Regions from separate parts of the Homo sapiens genome. Here region 2 is linked to region 1. Evidence: promoter capture Hi-C in human tissues and cell types (Jung and others, 2019). All regions are on one chromosome and are shown on one strand. Each heading gives the region's core, a stretch centred on a gene start or on the middle of the fragment in contact. The rest is flanking DNA. Distances are from core to core; before and after follow the strand shown. Region 1 holds the start of CXCR6 (C-X-C motif chemokine receptor 6). Region 2 has its middle 14 kb from the start of LTF.

Region 1 (2,680 bases), core at 55-2,554:
GGGCCCCCTGGCACAGCTCCATACTCAGAGCAGGGCAGGAAGCACTGGCTTTGCAGCCTGACAGTCCTGGGTGACTGCCAGGGATGTGTGTTCTTGGGCAAGTGGGCTAATCTCTCTAATCTTCTGTTTGCCTATCTGTACGTGACTAGGATTAGATGGCTGTACATAGAAGCATCCAGCATAGGGCCAGGCTTGCGGTAGAAATGAGTGTTAGTCTCTGGATCCTGAGGCTGCTCCTGGTCCCTGCTCCCAATGCTTGACATTTGCCCTTAGGAAGAGCCACATGAGAAGGTTTGCCTAGCAGGTGGGAGAGAGCAACAGCATTGGAGAGAAGCAGCCTGAATGGGAGTGCAGAGCCAGAGAAGGCAGGCCAGGCACCTCCACAAGAAGGCAGCTGCTTCTGGGAAAGCAGACATCGAGTCCATGCCTCTCCCTAGTACCCTCTCCACTACAAGGCACTGGGGCATGTGACCCAGGCTGACATGCCTCCAATTCCTGCCTTCCAGCGTTATTTCCCAGAAGGGTCAGTAATGTTAGATCATGGAGACTGACAACTAGAACTGTACTGAGATCAAAGTAGTCAACATCTGGGGAATTCCAGGAGTACAGAGGGCAGCCCAAGGAAACCAGATGATTCCAGCCAGCCTACGCAGGGTGGGTGGGCACTGCCTGCTGAGTGCCTGAGTGGTGTGGGCTTAGGAGGTGGGGCTGCACCAGGCCCTCTGGCAGACCCATCATCATGCTGTTGATTGGTCTGGTAATGACAGATACCTGAGTGTGTATCTTCGATTTTCCAGTTTCTAGCTGTGTGCACCAGGGCTTGTTATTTTGGCTATGGTCCTCAGTGTTCTCATCTATAAAGGCAGGATAATATCCACTGCAGGGCTGCTATGGGGCTTAACAGCTATCACATATGCTGGAGCTGCATATGCACGCAGAACCCAGCCCATACCATGGACTCAGCATTGGCCCAGACCCTAACTGTTCCAAAAAGATGTCTGACTAGTGAATTAAGTAATTTTAAGGTACAAATGCCACCATCTTCGGTGGATGGCCAGAGCCAAACCTCCTTATTGTTCCCCTTTAGTTTACGAATAAAGCTCGTCAGGCCCTGACAGAAGAATCAGCCCCAAAGCAGAATGAAGGGAGTGTGGGGTATCAGTCACCCATCCATCTCTGACCCACGCGTTACACAGGGGCGGGTTGGTCATATGGATTCTGATCTGAAGGACGGGAGTAGGGGGTGGGTCTCTTATAGTAACCAGCTGAGGGCTCTTAAAAAATGTTCAGCGGAAACATGAACCACATCACAGAAGTAGAGGCAGACCTTGCTTCATGAGCAAGCTCATCTCTGGAACAAACTGGCAAAGCATCTCTGCTGGTGAGTCATTTGTTTTACTCTTTATATTGAAAAGAAGACAGGGAGGACTAACCCCAGGTATTGTTGGTATTCTCAGATTCCTGTCTGTAGTAGGGTACAGTGCAAAATGCCAGGCTATGGAGCTCAGCTGCTCTTCGTTCAAATTCCATCACTGCCATTTGCTGCTGTGTGGGTTAAACTGGAGAAACATGAAAACTACTGAACATGTTTCCAGGCACACAGTTAGTGCTTGCAGGCTGATGGTACTGCTAGTAATGGCATAGTCAGACCCACCCAGGGAGATAAGGAGAATCTAGTTATTGTCTATATTTGCTCAATGAATAATCTCTGTTTTCATTTCTTTTGCATAAGACAGGCTGTTTTATCAGATTATCATTTATGTTCTTTTTTCAATATAAATCAACATACTACTGTAGAAACTTTGAAAACTATTTTAAAAAAAGGAAGAAATAAGTCACCCATAATTCCACCAGCTGGAGGCCAACTGTTAATAAAATGTGATCATTTTTTCCAGGTTTCTAAAAGTACGGTCAGTTAAAATCACATAGTTTATCATGAACTCTTATGTGAGGGCCCACAGAATACATGGCAGAAGGATTCAAGGGGTTCATGGACTCCCAGAATTGTAGGGGTGTTTGTGTGTGTGCGTGTGTGTCTGTGTGTGTGTGTGTGTGTGTATATATATATACATTATTTCTGAGAAAAGGTCTGCAGTTTTTAGGAGATTCTCAAAGGAGTTTATGGTCAAAAAAGGTTAAGAATCACAATTTTATATCCTTTTGACATCTATTTGTTGTAATAGTAATAGTTAATACTTATTTTGCATATTTACTTTGTGTTTACACTGTTCTTAGCAATTTAACTGTATTGCATTTTCCAAAATCAGTAAAAATACTTCCTAAACATTTAAGTATATTCTATTTTATGTATGAATTGTAATTTGCTTCATCATTATCAGACTTTTACACTACTTCCAAAGTTGTAGATTTTTTTTTTAATTTTCAGAAAACAAAATAGGATTTTAATTATAGAGGATAAAGAAATGAATGTTTTTAGTTCGCCTAGAAGGGAAAGTAATTTTTCATACTCTATTTGCACAGCACTGTCCAGGCCCAATCTGTTTACCAATTATTATACATCAAAGTTTACCAATTATTACACATGAATTTGCACAGGTCCTTTGAGGAAATGTGTAATGGCAGCATAAGGGACCAGCAAAAGCTGGAACAGGAAGATACCAAAAAAAGGCGAGAGCGAGTCAAGCAATAATGGGGAGCTGAACATTATTCTTAAGAGCAA
Region 2 (2,680 bases), core at 80-2,579, 540 kb after region 1:
TCTAGGCGACTCCCTTGTCCCTTTGATTCACTGGGTAGTCTGGTGCCTGAAAGGCAGGGTCAGTGATGAGAGTGGTTAAACATCGCAGGCAGGGGAGTTTGAAACCAGCTCTACCTCTTCCCCACTCCCCAGATCTAGCCACGTCATTCAGCCTGTCTCAGCTTCAGTGTCCCCATGTGAAAATAGGAATACTAAAAGCATCTCCCTCATAAAATTGTTAGAACTTAATGAAGTAACTTATAAAGATGCTTAGAACAGTGCCCAGCACATAGGGGCTGCTCAATCGATATTTTTTGAACGAAGGAATGGGTGTGTGAATTAATAAATGAATGGATGTAAGATTTTCAGTACAAGGCCAAACCATACAGTGAAAACTCAGTCAATATTAACTATTATTGTTATTGTTTCCATGCATTTCTGGTCCCCGTTGTGAGCCAGAACCTATGCAGAGTCCTGGGAATCTGCAAAGAGTTCCCTTTCCCCAGGCGGCTCCAGTTGAGTCACAATCCAACAGAAGGTGTTAGCAAAGGCAAGTTCACCCTACAGGGAGGACAGAGGGCCGAGCGGGAGCCACTTTCCCCAGTCTTCCTTCTCAAGCTAACCCAGCAGCGTGCCCCAGCCCTTTTACAGACATCTGTCTTTGTGATTCCTTGGGCCCCTCTCCACACCCACACTCCTTATGCCCACATTCTGTCCTGTTATCTGCAACCCTTTGTAACTCTTTCACTCCTCTCTCTTTTATGACGTCCACTTCTCTCTCCAGTTCTCTGTCTCTCTCACCATCATGCCCTCTTCCCGCCCCACTGCCCTGAGACTTTTCCTAATGGCCCCTCTCAGCAGCCTGGGCAGCCTCCTTGAATTTCTGCTCACCAGTAACCCAGCTGCGTCCCGACTGTCAGTCTTGGCTTTGCTCCACACATCTTCTCTCTCCCCCTCCAAGGGTCTCTGGGCTACAAGGGAAGCTTTCCCAGAACCCATGTGGCCACTCAGTCACTTCCCCAGAGGCTGAAGGTCGCTATGTTGGTGACAAAGGGCAGGTGACACACTTTGCTCTCCACAGTGCTATCAGCAGGCATGAGCAGGGTCCCTAGAGAGTGCCAGGGACCAAAGGGTGAGGCCAGGTCCACCCCGCTCTTAACCATCACTCCCCATCTTCCTGGACAGTGCAGCTGGATGAGGAAGCAGCCGCAGGATGCAACGTAGATGCTAGAGGGCCAAGGGGAGGACAGAAGAGGGTAGGGCAGAAGATGACTGGCAGAATGAGGAACTAGTGGGTGGGCCTGGGGACCTCGTAGATGAAGCAGAACCTGATGGCTATTTGGAAATGGAGGAAAGAGTCACAAAAGTGAGCAATTTCCAGGATATTTGGAAATATTCTGGCTTGAGGTTACTACCTTGAAATAATTTGACCAAGAAAATCAGACACTCTCAGAAAATAATATTTTTTATGCCATTTTACAAATGAGGTCTCTAAGCCCAGAGAGGGCGTGTGGCCTGCTCAGACCTGACACAGTGCGGCCAGGTAGAATCCAGCTTCCTGACTCCTTGCACTTAGAGGGGTTCCCTCAACTAAAGCCATCCTCACAGAGCATTTATCCTGGACCAGGTCCTTGTTAGGTACTGGGTCACCAAACTGAGTTAGACTCAGTTCTGCCCCCAAGGGCAACAGACAAGGGAATAGTCAGTTACCACCATAGGAGATGAGAATGTCCATGGACCACGGTAACAGAAGAAGCATGGAGAACCACGCCTGTGCCCAAGGCTCTGTGCGTGGTAGGGAATCTGCCTCCCACCTGTGGCAGCTCTGGAGGAGGGGCAGCCTGACCTGTGACAGGCAGGGAAAACCCCATAGCCCCCTCTCTCCCACCCTGGCATCTTCCAGCAACCTCCACAAAGTGGGTTTGGCCGGAACCAAGTGATTGAGGGGGAGATTACAGGGCCCGGGAATTGTGGGGCCCTGTGGGTACCTAGAAGACCATCTGCTTTTACTCTGAGGATGTAGGAGCCAAGGCAGAAGGCTGAGAATGGACTGAGAGGCAGAACAAGTGGGGAGCAGAGAGATGATTAGGGAGGCTCCAGCAGTGACCTGGGAGAGAGATGAAGTGGCTTTTCTGTTTGTTTGTTTGTTTGTTTGTTTGTTTGTTTGTGACAGAGTCTCGCTCTGTCACCCAGTCTGAAGTGCAGTGGCACGATCTCAACTCACTCCAACCTCTGCCTCCAGGGTTCAAGCGATTCTCCTGCCTCAGCCTCCCAAGTAGCAGGGATTACAGGCAAGTGCCACCACCCCTGGCTAATTTTTGTATTTTTAGTAGAGACGGGGTTTCACCATGGCTGGTTTCTAGGCTGGTCTCGAACTCCTGACTTCAAGTGATCTACCCACCTCAGCCTCCCAAAATGCTGGGATTACAGGCGTGAGCCACTGCGCCCGGCCAGAAGTGGCTTTGATTAGGATGTGGCAGTGGAGAAATAGTGAGATGGCTGGATTCTTGACATATTTTAAAGGAGGAGGTCATGGGATTTGCTTACATTACAAGGGGATGTGGGGTGTGAAGGAGAGAGGTGGATGATGGCACCAAGGTGTTTGGCCTGAGAAACTAAAAGGAGGTAGTTTCATTAACTGAGATGGGGAAGACTGGGAATAAAGCAGATTGAGGAGGAGGTGGATCAGAAGCTCCATTCT

What was found. The method cuts DNA at HindIII sites, captures the fragments that hold promoters and counts their contacts. A contact is called where the count stands out against the background at its distance.
Region 2: a contact is called between a fragment that was not itself captured here and the fragment with the promoter of CXCR6 in region 1, in 2 of the 25 tissues and cell types used here (mesenchymal stem cells and small bowel).

The regions. Positions count from the first base shown.
Region 1 is chr3:45,942,160-45,944,839 of GRCh38, forward strand. CXCR6 (C-X-C motif chemokine receptor 6) reads left to right here and starts at 1,305. Exons shown (of 2, transcript NM_006564.2): 1 at 1,305-1,381. The region is part of intron 14 of FYCO1 (FYVE and coiled-coil domain autophagy adaptor 1); the gene reads right to left. The HindIII fragment of the contact is 14,146 bases long and covers 1-2,680 here.
Region 2 is chr3:46,477,397-46,480,076 of GRCh38, forward strand. It overlaps a transcript of LTF not described here. Among named protein-coding and RNA genes, the nearest start is that of LTF, 14 kb to the left of the region's middle. RefSeq lists enhancers at 529-1,030, 1,031-1,530. The HindIII fragment of the contact is 7,156 bases long and covers 1-2,680 here.